Regions from separate parts of the Homo sapiens genome. Here region 2 is linked to region 1. Evidence: promoter capture Hi-C in 16 types of primary human blood cells and fetal thymus (Javierre and others, 2016). All regions are on one chromosome and are shown on one strand. The core of a region is centred on a gene start or on the middle of the fragment in contact, and the rest is flanking DNA. Distances in the headings are between cores, read along the strand shown. Region 1 holds the start of LSM1 (LSM1 homolog, mRNA degradation associated). Region 2 holds the start of THAP1 (THAP domain containing 1).

Region 1 (3,901 bases), core at 686-3,185:
CTTCGGGAGGCCGAGGGGCAGGGGAAAGGGGGATCACTTGAGGTCAGGAGTTCAAGACCATCCTGGCCAACATGGCGAAACCCCGTCTGTACTAAAAATACAAAAATTAGCCGGGTGTGATGGCCGGCGCCTGTAATCCTAGCTACTCGAGAGGCTGAGGCAGGAGAATCGCTTAAACCGGGAGGCGGAGGTTGCAGTGAGCCGAGATGGCACCACTGCACTCCAGCCTGGGCAACAGAGCGAGACTCCAACTCAAAAAAAAAAAAAACAAAAAAAACGACATTTCTACTTTTTGGCGATTATGAATAATGATGCTATGAACATGGGCGGACAAGCTTTATGTGAACATACGTTATCAGTTTTCTTGGGTATATAGCCAGGAGTGGGCTTGCTGGGTCATAGACTAATTCTAATGCTTAATGTTTTGAGGAACTACCAAACTATTTTCCACCATTTTACATCCCCACCAGCAATGTACGAGAATTTCACTATTACATTTTCAACAAATGAGGATAATTCTTGAACGAACAGAGAGGTATGCTGCCACCGCAGAACGACAACCCACTACCCAGAAGACTGTATTAACAAAGCAGAAGTATATGTCCGGCAGGAAAACGGAGAATAAAATGTTGCAGGTCCAAGTGTATTAGGCAAGTGAGTTAACCTCGCAGAGCCCCGGTTCCTTATTCGAAAACAAAAAAAAGGGCCGCTGTAATGCCATTTTACCTTGCAGTCGCCGTGAAAATTAAATCAGTCAATCCGCGTAAAGGTACTTTACAACACTGATTATTCATGATTCGATCTCAGGCAAGGCATTAGGGGCAAACAGCTAAATGCCCAGATCCCTCCTCCTCGCAAAGGTTCCTTCCCCTCGGGAGGGTCCCTGAGCGGCATCGGGGGCTGCAGCCACTTCCCTTCCCCGGGAGAGCCGGCCTGCCAGCCACGCAGGATAAATTGCTAGAGCTGGAGCAGTAGATCCGTGCCACCCCTACCCAGCACCGCTCCCAGGAGAGAGATCTGCAGCCTGCTGCTAAGCTTAGTAAGTCCGCGCAGGATCTTTCTTTTTTAAATGGTAATAAACATATTTTTTGGGGTCGAAGCAGAAAAGGAGGGGCAAAGGGAACACAAGCATGTCCCCCCAACCTCTGATCTTAGTCTCGGTCTCTCCAACACCCCCCGCAACACACCCTCCTCCACATAAGGAAAACAAGTATGAAACCCGATCCTTTACGAACCCCAGCCCCAAGGGCCCTCACCTCCCCGCAAGGACAGAGGGTGCAAAGCTTACCTGGTGGCTTCCTCCGGCTCGACCAGGCTCTGGCCAGGCGCCTCCCGAGGGATAGTAGCCATCGCCTCCTCCGCCTTCTCCCAGCCAGGTGGTCTCCGCCGGGCCGCCCCCGCGCACCCGCCAGGAAATGGGAGGCTGGGGAGGTTCAGGGCGAAGAGGATATAAGGGTGGAGGTGGGTGTACCGGCACATCTCCACCCCCAGGCCCGTAGTAGCGGCCGTAGGACGGACCGTCACTGGGGCCGTAGCCCGAGCGCCTCAGGGCCGACATGGGATCCGCTGCCCTGAAGCGCTTCCCGCCCCGCTCCCCACGGCCGACCCATCGCGCAGGCGCCCGCGGGCGATTGCGAATGGAGAGCAGCGAAGGGGGTCGGACGACGCCAGCCAATCCCAGGCCCGGGCCCGCCCCTTCTGCTGCCGAACCCCGAAAGCTGAGGGACGGAGGTCAGTGACTCTGGGGTCTCGGGAACCCGGAGACGAAGGAAGACACCGTGTTCCTTAAGAGGGAGTATACGTTTCCTCGCCATTTATCCAATGGAGTTTCCTCTTACCTACTTAACAGGAACAGGGAAAGGGTGTCCCCCAACGGTACGGCTGCCCCGCCTCTTCCTGGGGGCCCACACGTGTTACAGGAAGTGGGTAAGGGTAATATGGAGGAGCTTCCGGCAGCCCCCGGCGGCTGAAAGCCGGGGCAGAAGTGCTGGTCTCGGTCGGGATTCCGGGCTTGGTCCCACCGAGGCGGCGACTGCGGTAGGAGGGAAGAGGTTTTGGACGCGCTGGCCTCCCGCCGCTGTGCATTGCAGCATTATTTCAGTTCAAAATGAACTATATGCCTGGCACCGCCAGCCTCATCGAGGACATTGACAGTGAGTAGTTTATCTCCTCCCGGTGGAGCCCGGGGTTAGACCCTTCCTCCCGGGCGGGCGCCTCTTCCGAAGAAGCTTGTAGAATGAGTCCCGGGCGGGGCCGGTGTGTTCTGAGCTCAATCCGGGCGTTCCGCGTCGATGTCCTCCACAGCTGCGGTACACACCGCTTGCCCACCCAGTAGCCTGCTGCTACTTCTGCCCCTCGCAGCCTCCGCCAGCCCTCTAGCTGGTGAGCCCCAAGCGATGGAACTCATTCTTGCTTCCGTGGATCGCGGCAGCAGAGGCCCGAACACGAAAGAAGCCCGGGGAGGGGGGGGGCTTCTCCCCCGTCCACTCCTGCCTGCAGTATTTCGAAGTATCAGCGTGTTACCGGTGGATGGATCGGAATACCTAGAGAGAGGATTCATTAAAAAGCGAAAATATTAAGACAGCGGCAGTTGGACTTAATTGGCAGTAAATGTAGGCGCTCTACGGTGTGGCCATTTGCTAGCTTATTTTACTGTGAGGGTCATTAGCACCTTCAGGTTATTGTAGTAGAGACCACTGTTAGACATGGTATTGACTTTTCTGGAAAGACCAAATCACTTGCAACCTTTTTTTTTTTTTTAAGACAATTTACTTTTGCTTTTACTAAGAAGACCTCCCTTATTCCTGGTTTTTGTCCGGAAGAGGAGCTCAGTCCTATACAAAAGCGAAAAGAACCGTCTGCAGTTGTTCTGGCTTTCCTTTTTTCTAAATTCCGTCTGTGCATTATTCCTCAAGCAACATTTTTTATTGTTTTAATCATGTGATCTTTCTCATTAACTTGTTTCAAGATGATTTACACATAGTTTTAAATAAGTTGCAATCGTCTCAGTTACTCTGTGAATACGCAATTTAGAATCTATGGTTAAAATTTCATTTTACGGGCCTGGCGCGGTGGCTCACGCCTGTAATCCCAGCACTTTGGGGGGCCGAGGCGGGCAGATCGCCTGAGGTCGGGAGTTCAAGACCAGCCTAGCCAACATGGTGAAACCCCGTTCCTACAATTAGCTGGGCACTATGGCGGTGCCTGTAATCCCAGCTACTCGGGAGGCTGAGGCGGGAGAATCGCTTGAACCCGGGAGGAGAAGGTTGCAGTGAGCCGAGATCGCACCATTGCACTCCAGCCTGAGCGACAGAGCAAGACTCCGTCTCAAAAAAAAAAAAAAAATCATTTTATGGTTGACAGATCTTTTTTCTTTTCTTTTCTTTTTTTTTTTTTTTTTTTGAGACAGAGTCTTGCTCTGTCGCCCAGGCTGTAGTGTGCAGTGGCGCGATCTCGACTCACTGGAACCTCCACCTCCCGGGTTTAAACAATTCTTGTGCCTCAGCCTCCCAAGTAACTGGGATTACAGGCGCCTGCCAGCACGCCCAGCTAATTTTTGCATTTTTTGGTAGAGACGAGGTTTCGCCATGCTGGGCAGTCTGGTCTCCAACTCCTGACCTCAGGTGATCCACCCACCTCGGCCTCCCAGAGTACTGGGATTACAGGCGTGAGCCACCGCCTCCGGCCGACAGATCATTTTTTTAAACACAAATTACTTATTGTGCTATGTAAGGGAAATGTAGTGTAATTGGACTAAATATATATTAACATCTATATGAACCTGTTACGTGTAACAGGATGTTTTAGTTGCTCGAGGATGCTCTTTTGCCCTCATCTCTCCTTATATATCCTCTAACACATCCTGCCATTTTACTAAAAATCAGTTTTGCTCTTTGGTCCT
Region 2 (3,901 bases), core at 463-2,962, 4.7 Mb before region 1:
AAAGGAGCAGGGAATGAAGTAAAACTGTTACAGGAAAGGGGTCCCAATCCAGACCCCAAGACAGGGTTCTTGGATCTCACGCAAGACAGAATTCAGGGCAAGTCCACAGTACAAAGCAAAAGCAAGTTTATTAAGAACGTAAAGTGGTGAAAGTACAGCTACTCCACAGACAGAGTAGGGCATTCCCGAAAGTAAGAGGAGGAACGCGTCCACCCTAAGTACAACACTTAGTTTATATATAGGATAAAAAAAGATCATGGGGAGATGTGCTTTGCTACAAGGGTTTGTGATAAAGGATTAATTACTATATTATGTAAGAATCGATATTATCTTTATTTATGAGACAGAGTCTTACTCTGTCGCCCAGGCTGGAGTGCAGTGGTGCAAGCACGGCTCACTGCAACCCCCGCCTCCCGGATTCAAGCGATTATCCTGCCTCAGCCTCCAGAGTAGCTGAAATTCGAGGGCATGTGCCACCACACCCGGTTAATTTTTGTATTTTTAGTAGAGACGTTTTCACCATGTTGACCAGGCTAGTCTTGAACTCCTGACCTCAAGTGATCCGCCCGCCTCGGCCTTCCAAAGTGCTGGGATTACAGGCGTGAGGCACTGTGCCCAGCCCAATATTATTATCTTTAAAGCAAAATTAGGAATGCTTCTGTTCTCAAAATATCGGGATATCTGGACACTTGGTAGTCTGGGTCTGTGTAGTAAACATTATCAATCTGTTGCCTTAATGGTATACACATCTAGAGGCTAGGAATACCTAACTTCCCGGGAATGCAGCCCAGCAAGTCCCAGCCTCATTTTCCTAGCCCTCACTCAACACAGAGTCGCTCTAGTTCGAACCCCTCTAACATATTCTCTCTCAGGTGTGAAAATTGCTGCAGCAGTTCGCTATTTGCAACACAGCACATGGAAATCACAGCAATGGAGAGCCTTCAGAAAAGCTTCTGGGGAGGGACAGCCTGGTGGCTCAACTCCTGTAATCCCAACCCATGGGGAGGTCGAGATGGGAGGATCCCTTGAGCTCGAGTTCCAGACTGACCTGGGCAACGTGGGGAGACAACGCCTCTATTTATTTAAAAAATTACATATATATATATATATATACATACACACACACATATATACATACACACATATATACATACATATACATACATATATATAAAACGCTTCTGCGTTGGCAATTGAGATGATTTGGCGAGTGTGTCTTTTTTCATTGCTAAAAATCTGTCACGTTGGCTCTCACAGAAACTTGTGATACCTGAAGACACAGGTAATGGGATAAAGATTAGCACTCTGGGAAAAGGTTCCACAATTTTATTAATCATACACCATCTGTGTCCGCCCTTTTAAAGAAATGGGCGCAATCAGCCAACGACCTCGGCTTTACACCTGTTCTCCAAGAGGCCCTAGTTGTTCCCTACTGTAAGCTGCCCCAGAAAAGGTCCGCATCAATTAACCCACGGGAACAGCCCGGGGCTGGAGGATGCCCCAGGAATCCGGCCTCCCGCCGCGCCTCCTCCCCCCACAAGCAGTTCCTTCCTGCCTGCCGGAAGCTCAGGGCTCCGCCCACTTCGGCAACTCTGAAGCCACCGCCGGAAACACCTGGCCTCAGCCAATAGTTAGCTTCCCAGGAAACGTTACCTCTGACCTCGGGGCTAATCAGAGACAGTGGGACGCACCCCTCGCGAGAGGTGAGGTTGAAGCTGCCTCCGCCATCTTGGAGATGGGAGACGGGCGATGGCTGTGGTCCTTCTGCTAATGCAAACAACAAAACGGGCACACTAGTCACCCCCGAGGGAGGCCACCATCACTGTAACTGTTGGCCAAAGCTACAAAAGAAGCGAGGGAATCCAACCGAGCGCAGCGACACTGAGAACAGCTTCCCCTGCCTTCTGCGGCGGCAGAAGTGAAGTGCCTGAGGACCGGAAGGATGGTGCAGTCCTGCTCCGCCTACGGCTGCAAGAACCGCTACGACAAGGACAAGCCCGTTTCTTTCCACAAGTGAGGACCCTGCGCGCCTCGCGGGGCCGGTCTCAGCCGGGGTGGGGGCGCGCGGCCGGCGGGGCCGGGGGCGGAGCCAGGCGCGTGTCCGCGCGAGGGGCGGGTGGGGTCTGGGGCCGGCCGTGTCGGGCGTTTCCCACCGCGTCCCGCTGGGAACCGCCGCCCGATCGCGCGTTCTCGGCGCGCGTCGCCGCGGCAGCCGTTTCTCGCGCTCCTGGAACAGGCCCTGGTTGCAGGCTTCGCTCACGGCCTGGGTTGACGCGTTCGGAGCCCACGGGCGATGCCTAGGGTGGCGCGGGTTTTGCCACCACCAGGGTCACAGAGCAGCCAGGTGTTTTAATATGGTCTTAGGGGTAAATTTAAAATAGAAACAAAGGCCTTTAAACGAAGAAATCACTACTTTTCGCCCTTGCCGTGGATGGGAGGCCAGCATCGTAGCAATTAAGGGTTTTTTGGCTGGGAAATCAGGGAGAATTTTTGCCCCCAATCTCTAGGAACTAAGCTTTAAGGACCCTGTATTTTGGAGAAAGCTTCAGGTACTGCCGAGATAAATCGTTATCTTTTCAGCACACAATAATGATAATATGGACAGTTACAACATGGATCATAATAAAATGACTCACACGGATCTTTATTTATTATGGCATTACCTGTGCATAGAGAAAGCTCTTTCGAAAGAAACTGCCCCACAGCTTTCAGAGCTGTCTTATCCAGTAGGTAGCACAGTTAAGTGATAGGATCAAAAATATTCTCTTGAAAATAGGAAAAAAGTGCAGAGTTGTAATTACTTATGATAAACGCTTGTAAAATGTGACATAACATTTTCATTCAGCTGAATTTGTTTACAAATTTTAATTACATTTATGTTAAGTTTTCTTTGCAAGAATTCCTGACAGCTATACGCAGATGATAGGTAAGAAATCAGATCCAGGGGTAAACTATACAGATTAGCCATAGGTAATTAGCTAATTATCTTTTATAATTAGGTAAATAATTACAAAAGCAAAATGTTAAATATCTTTTCAGTTAATTTATTTTTTTGCTGTGGGGCCATCTGTGTTTACTAGGGGAGTGTCCATGCATTTTTTAAATATGTTTGATATCATGTGAGATGGACCCTATAGAAATAAGAGTGTGTAGAACATAGAGAGGTCTCCAGAGTAATAATGTTACCCCTTGGAGAAGGGGATAGAACACTTAGAGGATTCAGTTCAGGATATCCTAATATTATCTCTTGATTTAATTGGAATTTCTGTAAACATGTTCTTTCTAAATGTAGGGAAAGGTCAGGTGATGGTAACAGGATTACATGCCCAGCTCCCCACCCACATTTCTGATGGCTTGGCAGAAGGAATCTAAAATTATGGAAAATGTTTCATTGGCACTGGAAACTAGTTTAAAGAGGGTATTCACACGTCGGAAATAACTGTTTTTGTCGAGGCACGATGGCTCATGCCTGTAATTCCCAGCACTTGGGGAGGCCAAGGTGGGCGGATCACCTGACGTCAGGAGTTCGAGACCAGCCTGGCCAACATGGCAAAATCCCGTCTCTACTAAAAATACAAAATACAGGCGTACGCCTGTAATCTTAGCTACTTGGGAGGCTGAGGTAGGGGAATCACTTGAACCTGGGATATGGAGGTTGCAGTGAGCTGAGATCTTGCCCTGCACTCCAGCTTGGGTAACAGAGTGAGACTCCATCTCAAAAAAAAAAAAAAAAAAAAAAAAAGATACAACTGTTTCTGCTAGATGTTAAGCAGATATGGATTGAATCAAAAGAAGGGCTAACCTGCATCTTATCCCTTATCTAAAATAGCAGGTTTAGGGAGAGTAGATGGGAAAGATCTTAAGAGAATCTCACAAACAGCTGTAAATTTGTTGTCCTTGA

The links. Contacts are between HindIII fragments. The CHiCAGO score rates a contact against its expected background, and 5 or more counts as called.
Region 2: the fragment with the promoter of THAP1 here is called in contact with the fragment with the promoter of LSM1 in region 1 in 3 of 17 cell types (non-activated CD4 T cells, fetal thymus and total CD8 T cells); the score reaches 8.9 in non-activated CD4 T cells.

The regions. Positions count from the first base shown.
Region 1 is chr8:38,174,527-38,178,427 of GRCh38, reverse strand. LSM1 (LSM1 homolog, mRNA degradation associated) reads left to right here and starts at 1,935. Exons shown (of 4, transcript NM_014462.3): 1 at 1,935-2,153. The coding sequence starts at 2,108. BAG4 (BAG cochaperone 4) reads right to left here and starts at 1,573. Exons shown (of 5, transcript NM_004874.4): 1 at 1,289-1,573. The coding sequence starts at 1,558. RefSeq lists enhancers at 631-970, 1,881-2,030, 1,252-2,109, 2,441-2,530, 2,110-2,967. The HindIII fragment of the contact is 945 bases long and covers 1,286-2,230 here.
Region 2 is chr8:42,841,136-42,845,036 of GRCh38, reverse strand. THAP1 (THAP domain containing 1) reads left to right here and starts at 1,712. Exons shown (of 3, transcript NM_018105.3): 1 at 1,712-2,013. The coding sequence starts at 1,943. It overlaps LOC124901940 (a long non-coding RNA gene), which reads right to left and starts at 2,103. Exons shown (of 2, transcript XR_007060901.1): 1 at 1,654-2,103; 2 at 1-1,270. RefSeq lists enhancers at 1,634-1,993, 1,329-2,119 and a silencer at 2,024-2,113. The HindIII fragment of the contact is 1,565 bases long and covers 953-2,517 here.